Regions from separate parts of the Homo sapiens genome. Here region 1 is linked to region 2. Evidence: promoter capture Hi-C in 16 types of primary human blood cells and fetal thymus (Javierre and others, 2016). All regions are on one chromosome and are shown on one strand. Each heading gives the region's core, a stretch centred on a gene start or on the middle of the fragment in contact. The rest is flanking DNA. Distances are from core to core; before and after follow the strand shown. Region 1 has its middle 39 kb from the start of SNORD12. Region 2 holds the start of RNF114 (ring finger protein 114).

Region 1 (2,927 bases), core at 94-2,593, 620 kb after region 2:
TCTGGAGTCAGACTGCTGGAGTGCAAATCCCAGATCTGCTGTTTAAGAGCTGTGCAACCCAGAACACGTCACTTAACCTCTCTGTGCCTTAGTTCCTCATCTGTAAAACAGACATGATAACACTGTTCCATAGCGTTATTATGAGGCTTAAATGAGACAATTTACTTCAAGCACTTAAAATAGTACCTTCCTGACATTTGGTATTTCATAAATATTAGATTTGTTGTTTGCGGATTTTGTTTGTTTTTTAAGTCATCTTCAACATCTCCCTCTATTACAATTGATCACTTAAGGCAGTTGACTTTATCTCCTAAAAATAGCCCATGAAAAAAGCAAATACTTCTCTACATCTTTTGCCTCCTAACTAGTCCCCTCCTGCCTGCTCCCCTGGGAGGTGGAAAGTGAACTTTTCCCTGCGTCTCTTCACAAGACCCTGCTCCAGATAAGGAGGCAGATCCCAAAAGAGCAAAACAAAGGTGAAAGCAAAGCTTTGAGGCTCCTGGTTCCTCCAGCCCCCACTCCGTATAGAAAGGACATCTCTTGGGAGGGGCTAACATTGTGTGATTCTGTGGGTGTCGGTCAGACCATGAGAAAGTATCACTGATGCCTTTGCCTGGACCCATCCTGGGCCCCCACTCCTGCGCTGTGGCAGGGGAGCCCCTGTTGGTGGTGCTAACCTGGGACTTCAGCTCCAATCAGTACAGACCCGCGGCTGCATGAACTCTCTACACAGAAAACCAACCAGTACAAAAGCACCCCCAGGCAGTCCTTCCCCAAATTTAATCTGGAAGGAGTTCTCTTTTGCCTATGGCTTGAGAAGACACCACATCCAAAATTACTTTCTCATCTCACTGCTGCCTGAATTTCCAACGTTGGCCACTCCTGGCAGCAAGGAGCTAGAAGACTCAGAATCAGACCCAGCTCCTCCACTGGCTGGGAATTCTTGACTGCCCAAAGCCCTCTCCTCTCTGAGCCTTGCTTTTCTTGACTGCTAAACAGGGATGTTATTCCATACCTGAACCCCAGAGGGCAGGGAGAATGTATTCAGGTTCCAGGGGACATCCAGCCCAGCTTCTGGGCACAGAGGGATAGGTGATTAATGGATGTTAGGTCCCTTACATTTTTATTTATTTATTTATTTATTTATTTATTTTTGAGACATGATCTCGCTCTGTCACCCAGGCTGGAGTGCAGTGGCATAATCATAGCTCACTGCAGGCTCAACCTCCTGGGCTCAAGTGATTCTCCCACCTCAGTCTCCTGAGTAGCTGGTGCTACAGGCAGTCATCACCATTTGAGGCTAATTTTTTTTTAATTTTTTGTAGAGACTGGGTCTTCCAATATTGCCCAGGCTGGTCTCGAACTCCTGGCCTCAAATGATCCTCCCACAGCCTCCCCAAGTGTTGGGATTACAAGCATGAGCCACTGTGCCCGACCCATTATGCATTTTTTTAAAAGCGCCCTCTCTGTCTTTTAAAACAAATTTCTGAAGGAAGCTCTAGTGATATCACACGGTAGAGGGGCCCAATCAATCACTTTCCTCCCTGACATAGGAAAGTTGGGTCATAACCGTTTTACAGGGTGACAGAATTTAGATTTTTTTTTTGTCTCCAGTGGGTGTGAAAACTTTACTTCTGGGATTTAAAAAGGATAGAGAGCCAGACATGGTGGTGCGTGCCTGTCATCCAGCTACTTGGGAGGCTGAGGCAGAAGAATCGCTTGAGCCCAGGAGTTCGAGGCTGCAGTGAATGATGATCGCACCACGGCACTCCAGCCTGGGCGACAGAGCAAGGCTCCATCTCTAGAAGAAGGGAGTGGGGTGGCGGGGGGGGAGGGGATAGGCAGCGTCCTTCCCACTAATGACTCAACTAAAATAGCCCTTAATAGAGCGCTGTGGGTACCACTCTGGAGGAGCCTTTACCAGGAATGCTTGGACTAGCCCGGTGGCCACGCCCAGCACGCGGACCACAGATGGACTTCACCTGCGTATCTGTCAGGCCCCTCGGCTTCTGGACCCGCCTGCCTGAGTTCTAACCAGCTTGGACACACTAGTTTTGGAATCACTCAGACCGTTCCGCCTCCGCTTTGAGCGTCTTTCCATCCTTGCTCTCCAAGCGTTAGCCCTTTTCTTGGTTTCTCCATGCTCCTTGTCACCTTCTCCATTCGCCTTGTGACCCCTCCGCCCGAAAGAAGCTTGCAACCCCTCCTCCCTCGCAGCTCTCTTGGCCCCGCGCCCGTCCCCAGCTGGGGCTCTCAGATAAAATACAGGACTCCGAGTTAGATTTCAATTTCAGAAAAACAACAAATAATTTTTTAGTATAAGTATATCCCATGCGATATTTAGGACATATTTTTCTCTAGAAAGATTTGTTTATCTGAAATTCGAGTTTAACTGGGTGTGCTGTATTTTGATTTGCGAAATCTGGCGCCCTACCTCAACCCAAGCGCCTCCCTCCCCTCGAGGCCCTCCAAGCTTCACGACCCCCCCGACACCGCTTACTGGGTGCGCTCCTTCCTCTCTCGCACCAGGCGCTCTCCTTCCTGCCTGCGCCTCTTGTGCTCATTTCCCTTCCACCGCCTGCGTCCCGCACCTGGGCCGAATCCTCCACCTTCCTGCCGCCCTTCAAGTCCTGTGAGCAGTCCTTGCGCCCCTCCTCCGAAACACCCCTCAACTCTCCACGAGTCCCTCTCCTTCAGGTCCCCCGAGATGAACGCACCCAGGTTCATAACCTGCGCGTCTTTCTCGGCTCGCAGCTCCACAGCCAGTGCTTCCCCTTTAGGTCCTGAGTGTCTGCGTCCCTCCTTGCCCGCGCGACCCCCTGCACGTCCCGTCTGCCCCGCGGCGCACCCTTCCAGTCCCCAAGCGCCGCGCCCCGCCCTCGGCTCGTGTGACCCCTCCAAGCCCAGAGCCCCCTAGGTGCTGGGCT
Region 2 (2,830 bases), core at 107-2,606:
TGGTATTTGGTGAGGTAACTTAACCTGGGACTTGAAGCCTGAAAAGGGAGGGGTGGGGGGAAGAGTTCCAGGCTAACCGAATTGCAAAGATGAATAGCCTAAAGCAACATGATGAAGCAAAAAGCAGCCAGCTAGGTGCCAAGCACTGTTCTCTGGACTACTGAAATGGTCACCTGCAGTACATCTGGGAAGAGCTAGGCCACGGTGACCCTTCCCTAAGAGAGCCTCGGACCCTCAGTGTATTCACCTGTAAAATGGCTGCCAACCCTCCCCCGCTGCAGGGTGGCTATAGAATAATGCCCATGGAGTGCAATGGCTACTGTGCCCGCTGCCAAGACCAATGCCAAGGTGATCCCACGATAAGCACTGAGAGGGGCCAGAGGAAAAGCCAATTCTGAGGCAAGAAGCAGGTGGCCACGTTGTCTACAATTCTTTCAACTCAGATGTGTTTGTGCGTCTGATGGAACAAGGCTTAGATTCAAATCGACCAACCTGACCAACCTCGAAAGCCCCGGCCACAGCCCAGGACCTGGACTGGACATTTATACACATATCTGCTTTAATCATTATAACCACTCTATTCACAATATTCAGGTCATGAAGGCTTAATTGAAAACTGAAAGAAACAAACCTCCTACACAGGAAGTAGAATGCTAACAATCCCATCTGCCAACTCCCACCCCCCTTTCACAGCTAAGGGCAAACTGGCCAGATCCCCATAAAGACTTCCCTTTTGTTGTTTTAGTCTAGTTCAGCGTTTCTCCCGACTTTAGTGCACAGTAGAATAACTCGCCACAGCTAGACACGACGCCAAATGTCCTATGCTTTAAGAGCGACGTGGACTAGAAAGGAAACGTCGGCTCTCCAAGGGCGGACTTCGGAGCCTAAAGTCCCCGCAGGGCACGAGTCCACTATCACGTGTGGGAAGGAGACTGACAGGCCGCCTGGAACATCGCAGGCGCTCAACAGACAGCAGCTGCCCCGCTAAGACGGGCGGAGGAACGGGATACTTAGGAGTGAGCGGGGCGGGACAGAAGAGCGCCCCGGCAGCTTTCACGGCCCTTAGGAGCCCCGGGGGACACCCCCGGGAGGCCCCTCTGGGTGGGTCCTCTGGCTCCCGCCCTGAGACCCATCTCGCTCCTCGGCTCCATTCCCTTCCCAGTTAAGCGCCCCCCGACCAGGCCCGGGCTCGCCGCTTACACGTGTCCGCAGGGCACCTGTACCGGCTTCTCGTACACCTCTAAGCACACGGGACACGTGAAGCGTCCTAGGGGGTCAGCCTCCGCCGCCGGCCCCGCCAGCTGCGCAGCACCCCCGCAGTCCCGCTGTTGCGCCGCCATCTTGCTGCCGCTCTGCGCCGCGCAACGGCGGCCGATGAGGAGGAGGCCGAGGGGGCGGGGCTCGCGGGGCGGTGAGCGGTTGGGGGCGGGGCTAGCGGGTGGGCCGCCCCTCGGGGCCCCTCTGACGCAAGCGAGCTAGAGGCCGAGGGAAATCTGGAAAACGTGGAAGCCAAATCCAAAGGCTGCCAGAATTGGGACGGGCTCTGCGCGTGGGCCGCTGTTTTCCAAATTTATCGTTAGTTCGGCACCACTTGCACTATCACTATTTATCTTCGAATCAAGTTGCTTTTTCCTTAAATTTATTTATTTATTTATTTAATCTATTTTGGGACAAGGTCTTGCTTTGTCGCCCAGGCTGGTGTTCAGTGGCGCGCGCGATCATGGCTCCCTGCAGCCTCGACCACCGGGGTTCAAGCGATCCTCCCACCTCAGCCTCCTGCGTAGCTGGACCACAGGCAGTCACCACCATGCCGGACTAATTTATTTATTTTTGTATTTTTTGTAGAGACGGGGAAAGGAGGGGGGGAAGGAGTGGTGCAGAGAGCGGGCGGGTCTCACTGTGTTGCCGAGGCTGGCCTCGAACTCTTGGACGCAAGCAATCCGCCTGCCTCGGCAACCCGAAGTGCTGGGATTACAGCGGTGAGCCACAGTACCCAGCCATTTCTTAAATTTAAGCAAATTCTAATAACAGATCTAATTCCTGAGCTGCAAGAAGAAAATCAATATCATTTATTTATACAAAGGAGCTGGGCAAGGTGGCTTACTTCTGTAATCTCAGCACTTTGGGAGGCCGAGGTGGGCGGATCGCTTGAGCCTAGGAGTACTAGAGCAGCCTGGCCAACATGGTGAAACCCCGTCTCTACTAACAATACTAAAATTAGCCAGGCGTGGTTGCCCATGCCTGTAGCCTCAGCTACTCAGGACGCTGAGGCAGGAAAAGCCTTTGACCTGGGAGGCGAAGGTTGCCGTGGGCCAAGATGGCTCACTCACTCCAACAGTCACTAAACTCCAGCCTGGGCAACAAGAACGAAACTCCGTCTGAAAAAAAAAAAAAAAAACAAAAACACAACCTGGCTAACACGGTGAAACCCTGTCTCTACTAAAAATACAAAAAATTAGCCGGGCGTGGTGGCGGGCGCCTGTAGTCCCAGCTACTCGGGAGGCTGAGGCAGGAGAATGGCTTGAACCTGGGAGGCGGAGCTTGCAGTGAGCCAAGATCTTGCCACTGCACTCCAGTCTGGGCGACAGCGCGAGACTCCCTCTCAAAAAACAACAACAACAACAACAAAACAAAACAAAAAAACCCCAACAACAAAGTACATTCATTTCATATTGTGCAATCATCACCATCAGCTATCTCTAAAATTCTGGTCTTCTTGCTAAACTGAAACTGAAATTCTGTCCCCATTAAACAATAACTTCCTCTTCCCTCCTCCCATCCCCATACCCCCAGGCCCTGGCAATTTTCTGTCTATGATTTTGAAGCACTT

Evidence for each region. The method cuts DNA at HindIII sites, captures the fragments that hold promoters and counts their contacts. A CHiCAGO score of 5 or more calls a contact.
Region 1: a fragment that was not itself captured here is called in contact with the fragment with the promoter of RNF114 in region 2 in 1 of 17 cell types (naive CD4 T cells); the score reaches 5.3 in naive CD4 T cells.

The regions. Positions count from the first base shown.
Region 1 is chr20:49,318,666-49,321,592 of GRCh38, reverse strand. No RefSeq gene overlaps it. Among named protein-coding and RNA genes, the nearest start is that of SNORD12, 39 kb to the right of the region's middle. RefSeq lists enhancers at 1,976-2,557, 2,558-2,927. The HindIII fragment of the contact is 1,705 bases long and covers 491-2,195 here.
Region 2 is chr20:49,934,923-49,937,752 of GRCh38, reverse strand. It overlaps RNF114 (ring finger protein 114), which reads right to left and starts at 1,356. Exons shown (of 6, transcript NM_018683.4): 1 at 1,201-1,356. The coding sequence starts at 1,340. RefSeq lists silencers at 1-281, 567-861, 1,320-1,509, 2,076-2,155 and an enhancer at 1,102-1,707. The HindIII fragment of the contact is 14,536 bases long and covers 1-2,830 here.